Linked DNA regions of Homo sapiens: region 2 is linked to region 1. The links are contacts of gene promoters, found by promoter capture Hi-C in blood cells and fetal thymus (Javierre and others, 2016). All regions are on one chromosome and are shown on one strand. Each heading gives the region's core, a stretch centred on a gene start or on the middle of the fragment in contact. The rest is flanking DNA. Distances are from core to core; before and after follow the strand shown.

Evidence for each region. Contacts are between HindIII fragments. The CHiCAGO score rates a contact against its expected background, and 5 or more counts as called.
Region 2: a contact is called between the fragment with the promoter of FGF12-AS1 here and the fragment with the promoter of PYDC2 in region 1, in 2 of 17 cell types (endothelial precursors and neutrophils). The highest score is 8.7, in endothelial precursors.

The regions. Positions count from the first base shown.
Region 1 is chr3:191,459,633-191,463,093 of GRCh38, forward strand. It overlaps PYDC2 (pyrin domain containing 2), which reads left to right and starts at 1,531. Exons shown (of 1, transcript NM_001083308.1): 1 at 1,531-1,824. The coding sequence starts at 1,531. The coding sequence ends at 1,824. All of the region lies in intron 1 of PYDC2-AS1 (PYDC2 antisense RNA 1), which reads left to right. The HindIII fragment of the contact is 8,936 bases long and covers 1-3,461 here.
Region 2 is chr3:192,237,044-192,240,504 of GRCh38, forward strand. It overlaps FGF12-AS1 (FGF12 antisense RNA 1), which reads left to right and starts at 1,587. Exons shown (of 5, transcript NR_046596.1): 1 at 1,587-1,641. The region is part of intron 4 of FGF12 (fibroblast growth factor 12); the gene reads right to left. The HindIII fragment of the contact is 8,524 bases long and covers 1-2,406 here.

The sequences.
Region 1 (3,461 bases), core at 281-2,780:
GGACAAAACCCAACTTCCTTTCATGATAAAAATACTCCCAACTGGAAAATAGAAGGGAGCTTCCTCAATCTGATAAAAGTTATCTATGAAAACTCATAGCCAAAATTATATTTAATGGAAAAATGATTTTTGTCCTAAAATCAGGACCATCTCAATGCTATCTGCTCTTAGCATGACCATACAACATTACATTAGTGGTGCTAGCCCTAGCAACTAGACAAGATAAGAAAGGCAACTGGATTGGAATGGAAGTGAAAGTGTCTGTATTAGCAGATAACATAATCTTGTATATAGGAAATCCTAAAAAATTCACTCGAAACCTGTTAGAACTATTAAATGAGTTCATCCAGGTTTCAGGATACAAGATCATACATAAAAATCAGTTTTTCTTCTACACACTTGTAATGAACAGTCCAAAACTGAAATTAAAACAATTCCTTTTAGAATCATATCAAAAAGAATAAAATACCTAGAAATAAATTTTAACAAAGAAGTAAAACTTATGCTCTGAAAATTACAAGACATTATTGAGAGAAATTAAAGAGCTAAATAAGTGGAAAGCATCTCGTGTTTATAGATTGGAAGGCTTAATTTACATTGTTAAGATGGCACTACTCCCCAAACTGATCTACAGATTCAATACAATCCCTGTCAGAACCTCAGCTTACTTTATGTAGAAATGGGCAAACTAGTTAGAAAATTCAAGTAGTATCGCATAGACCCAGTACAGCCAAGATGATATTGAAAAATAAGAGCAAACAAAGACAATTCACCTTTCCTTATTTCATGACTTAGTAATTTATTTAGTATTTCCTCATTTCATGACTTAGCATCTTAATGGTAATTAAGATAATGTGGTACTGGCATAAGGATAGGCACATTGCTCAATAAAACAGAACTGAGAGTCCAAAAATAAGCCCGTACATCTGTGGTCAACTGACTTTCAACAAGGGTTTCAAGACCGTACAATGGGGAAAGAATAGACTTTTCAACAAATGATGCTTAGGCAAGTAGATTTCTACATGCAGAAGAATAAAGTTGGACCTCTATTTCATGCCACATACAAAAATTAACTCAAAATATATCAAATACCCAAATGTAAGAGTTAAAGCTGTAATATTCTTATAGTAAATGATAGGGGTACATCTTTATGACCTGAGACTTGGCAAAAGATTCTTAGACATGACATCAAAAGCATAAAAAATAAGAAAAAAATAGATAAATTTGATTTCATCAAAATGAAAAACATTTGTACCTTAAAGGACACCATCATTAAACTGATAAGACAACTCACAGAATGGGAGCAAAAATTTGCGTATCGCGTATCTAATGAAGGACCTGTCCCTAGACTATATAAAGAACTCTTACAACTCAGCAATAAAAAGACAATAACGCAATTTTATAATGAGCAAAAATCTGAACTGATATTTCTTCTAAAAAGATATAAAAATATATACTTATTAGTATATGAAAAAATGTGAGAACCAGAGCATAGGGCCAGGCGTTGGGAGAGCTCCCACATAGGACAAGATGGCATCTTCTGCAGAGCTGGACTTCAACCTGCAGGCTCTTCTGGAGCAGCTCAGCCAGGATGAGTTGAGCAAGTTCAAGTCTCTGATCAGAACAATCTCCCTGGGAAAGGAGCTACAGACCGTCCCCCAGACAGAGGTAGACAAGGCTAATGGGAAGCAACTGGTAGAAATCTTCACCAGCCACTCCTGCAGCTACTGGGCAGGGATGGCAGCCATCCAGGTCTTTGAAAAGATGAATCAAACGCATCTGTCTGGGAGAGCTGATGAACACTGTGTGATGCCCCCACCTTAACCCCTCAGGGATAGTGAGTTGATGGCTGAGCTAGATGTTGCTTTAGCCTTGGTTCTGCCTCCATTTTACATGCACATGTTGCTTAACCTTGTTATATATGAAATATCTATATCACCAGTATTTTGAGATAAATAAAGGTGAAATAATTCACAAACATTAAAAGAAAAGATGCCTGACAACTTTAGTATTCAGGGAAATGCAAATCAAAACTATGATGAGATACCACTTCATATCCACTAGGCTGGCTAGAATAGAAAGATAATAACAAGTATTGGCACAGATGTGGAGAAACTAGAATCCTCATATACTGCTTATGGAAATGTGAAATTGTGCAGCCACTTTGGAAAACAGGATGGCAATTTCTCAAATGATAAACAGAGTTCTCATATGATCTAATATTATATTTATAAGTACATGATCAAGAGAAATAAAAACATAAACACAAATGTTTATAGTGTCATTGTATACAATAGCCAAAAGGTGGAAACAACCTAATGTCTGTGAATGGACAAATGAATAAACAAATTGTGGCATATGCAGCTAATGAAATATTATTCGACAAAAATGAAGTATTGATCACATGCTTAAACATGAATGAACATTGAAAACACTATGCTAAATGAAAGAAGCCTGTCATAAAAGACAAAATATTATATGGTCACATCACATATGATATGATTCCATTCATAGGAAAGTTCAGAATGGCCAAATTTATAGAGTCAGAAGTAGATAACAGGTTGCTTAGGACTGGGAAGGAGAGTTGGTGAGTAGAGGGGAATAGGGAGTAATAGCTAAAACATTTAAGATTGCTTTTCGAGGTGATGAGAATATTCTGAAATCAACTATGGTGATGATGGTACATATCTGTGAATAAGCTAAAAACATTTAATTGTATTCTTTAAATGAGTTGTGTGATATGTGAATTATATCTCAATAAATGTTAAAAATGCAAAAAATGAGACAATGAATGTTTACCATCTTTTCATATGTTTAAAGACCGTTAATATTTCCATTCAATGAACTATTTATTCATACTCTTGACAATTTTCCTTTTTTATTCCATTTTTGTTTTGTTTTGTCTTTTTCTCATTGATTCCAGGAACTCCTTTTATGTCTGAGAGATTAGTACTATCTGGATATGAGTTGCAATTTCTTTTCTTTTTGACTTTGCTTATGATTTTCCCCACAGCAGAAGACTACAATTTTATGTATATGCATTAATCTATCACTACTTTTATGGCTTCCAGATGAGACTCATAGAAAGATCTTTCCTAGTCCAAGGGAATAAAATAATTCTCCTATCTTTACTCCTGATTCATTCATGGTTACATTTTAATATTTGCCTTTAAATCTGTAATCTATTTAGCCACTTTTTCCCAACAAAGGTATGAAGTATGTATCCAGCATTCTTCTTTTCAGGCAGCCAGCCAAGGATACCAGAACCTTTATTGCAATCTCATCTTTTCCCTACAGATTTGAAATGTACAAAGTAAACTTCCTAATATATCTGGCTTTCTCCCCTCCCTCCCTCCCTCTTTTTTCTTTTTCTTTCTTTCTCTCTTTCTCTTTCTTTCTTTCTTTCTTTCTTTCTTTCTTTCTTTCTTTCTTTCTTCTTTCTTTCTTTTTCTCTCTCTCTC
Region 2 (3,461 bases), core at 337-2,836, 780 kb after region 1:
TTAGTGTTTGCTTGTCTGAAAAAGATTTTATTTCTCCTCCATTTAAGAAGTTTGGTTTGTCTGAATATGAAATTATTGGCTGAAATTTCTTTTCTTTAAAGATGCTGAATATAGGACCCTGATCTCTTCTGGCTCATAAGGGTTCTGCTGAAAAGTGCACTATAGCCTGGCGGAGTTCCCTTTGTACATAACCTGCCCCTTATTTCTAGCTGTCTTTAAGATTTTTTTCTTCCACATTGGTTTCGAAGAATCTGATGACTACGTGTCTTGGGGATGGTCATCTTGTATAGTATTTTGCAGGGGTTCTCTGAATTTCCTGAATTTGCATGTTGATCACTCCAGCAAGGTTGGGGAAATTTTCATGACCAATATTCTCAAATATGTTTTCCAAGTTGCTTGTTCTCTTTCCATCTCTTTCAGGAATGACAACGAGTTACAGGTTTGGTCTCCTTACATAATCTCATATTTCTCAGAGCTTTTGTTCATTTTTCAAATTCTTTTTTATTTTTGTCTGCCTGCATTGATTCCAAAAAACAGTCTTCGAGTTCTGAGACTTTTTTCCCTCAGTTTGATCTATTCAGTTATTAATGCCTCCAATTGCATTATAAAATTTCTGGAGTCAATTTTTCATCTCCAGACATTCAGTTTGTTTCTTTCTTAAAATGGATGTGTACTCTTTCAACTCTTGGACTGTTTCACCGTGTTCTTGGGATTGGGTTTCAACCTTCTCCTGTAACTATATGTGGTTCCTTGTCATTCAGCTCCTGAATTCTGTATCTGTAATTTCAGCAATTTCATTCTGGTTAAGAACCATTGCTGGGGAGCAAGTTGTAGTCATTTAGACTCAAGAAGACACTCTGGCTTTAAGAATCATTAGAGTTCTTGCACTAGTTCTTATCTGTGTGGACTGATGCTCCTTTGGTATTTGAAGCTGCTGTCTTTTGGATGGGGCTTTTTGCTTTTCTATTATTTGATGCTCTTGAGGTTTTGACTATGGTATAAATTGGGTTTCATGGATTGGTTTCAATTCTGAATGCTTTTCTGGAGCCAAAGCTCACCTCAGCACTCTTGGGCTGCATGCTGTAATCCTGGGGGATGGGGGATTAGTCCTGTGGCTTTGCTCTCTGGCCCCTTGAGATTAAGCACCTGCTGTGCTGGAGGTGCTGAGGTGTTCCCAGTTCACTTGCAACAACACTCTGGCAGGGGCTGCTGGCAAAATTGCTCCAGTGGGGCAGTGGGAGTCTCCACACACATGTGCACCAATGGAGGAGGCTGCAGGCGAGTACGCATCAGTAGGGGGAGGCTGAGGGTGGGTGTGCACTGGCAGGGAAAGACTATGGGCAGGTATGCACTGACAGGGGGAGGATGCAAGCAGGTACGTGCTGGCAGGGGAGGTCATGGTTGGAGTGTGCCAGCAGGGGGAGACAATGGGTGGATGCATAATGGTAGGGGTCCACCAGGTCGTTTTCTTACTCCAAGTTTCAGTTTTGTTAACCTGTACTATAAAATGACTGAACTGTAATTTTTAAAGTTTTCTTAAGCAGAAAGACTTCAATTATTTTATTTGATGTGCCACTGGACAGACTTGTAAATGGAAGCTCAAGGAATTCAGTGAGTTGTCTCTGGAAAAGAGCAGAGCAGGTAATCCCAGGCTTTTGTGTTACATGTATATTGCTCTTTCCATCATCTTATGGCTGCTTCAAAGGTTCCTCACAGGTCCAAAGTTTACTCTAACTCAGTGAATTCCTTTGGTCATTCCACATGTAATCCTCCTGGAGCACATTATCAATGGCAATCTTTGGACAGTGCTAGGCCTATCAATGGTGAACCTGGGATGGCTGAAGCTCATGCTGAGTCAAGTCTATACTAATCTAATTCTCCCAAATGTGATGGGAAGTGCATTTTCCACAAACAGTACTCATCTTGGAAAGTAGACCAGCATCCTAATAAAAGCAGAGATTTTAGTGTAATACAGGTTAACATTCCAATCCCACAGAATGGGCTTGCTTAGTGTATAACTTTTCCTAGTCTTCATACTTACGAAAAGACATGAGGTCTATGTGTAACATGTAGAAGTGTACATGGCCCAAAATATAAATTGAGCCCAAAAAATATCTGCAGGATACATAAAAAGCTAGCTCTTTTCTATTCTCTATTTGGTTTGCATACAAATGGTAGCATCCATGCACTTTAATGTTATTCAAAATGAACAATAGAAAAATCCATGGAAACTTGTCCATTTTGTTTGCATTGATGTTTCCAGAACTACTGATTTTGATAGATTTGTTTTTCCATTAAAGAAGTAGGAACAAATCCCTGATCTCTTACACTGAATTGTGGTGAACAGAGTAAGATGGGAAATTGCTCTTTTAATACCAAATTGGGACAAAGCCGTTAATTATGTGAAGCTTATTCTAACAATAGCTCTTCAAGTGTGTGATGGACCAGGGGCCCCCAACTCCTGGGCCACAGACTGGTACTGGTCTGTGGCCTGTTAGGAACTGGTCACACAGCAAGAGGTGAGCAGCGGGTGAGTGAGCACTACTGCCTGAGCTCTGCCTCTTCCTGTCAGATCAGCAGTGGCATTAGATTCTCATAGGAGCATGAACCCTATTGTGAACTGTGCATATGAGGGATCTAGGCTGAGCGCTGTTGGTGAGAATCTAACCAATGCCTGTAAATCTGAGATGAAACAGTTTCATCTGGAAACCATCTCCAACCCCCAACTAGTCTGTGGAAAAATTGCGTTCCAAGAAACTGGTTTCTGGTGCCAAGAAGGTTGGGGACTGTTGTGATAGACTACTAATCCTGCTAATGGGGTAACCCAAGTCACAACTAAGTTTAAGGTTGGAAAGCCCCAGTAAATATCTGAGGTCTTAGTGAAACAGGGTAAGATGAAAGGTGAGAAAAAGTTGTATTAGACACTATGGGTGCAGGGGGGAAGATCCCAGAAATAATAGTCTTTGAATGAAAGTCCAAGATATGACCTTCTTGGTAGAGAAAAACTCAACCAGGAAAGTTGTCTTATACATTTTTCATAGATGTTGTGCATGTTGAATCCCCACCCTTATGGTAATCCATTAGTATGCTGAAGGCTCAGAGGAAATAGTACAAAACAGATGCATTCATGCTTCATTTTTCCATATGTTTGTTATTCAACACCACACGATGACTGATAGATCCCATATCTAATTACCATATACTGGAGAGCTTTCTGGATTTTTCCAGCCCAGCAGTGACAATAATTGCCATTCAAGAAAAGATAAATCAATGTTATAATAATAATACAATGACTTATCTGATTTCCCCTGTTATTTTTTTTGGAATATCAACTTTTCACTGAATTTAAGATGATTTTCTGATAAAATTATTATTTTTTTGCTCTGAAAACCAATATAAATATGTTTATCTGCTACAATAAGAATGATAACATGCAACAATAAATGTAAACTTAGCTGTTA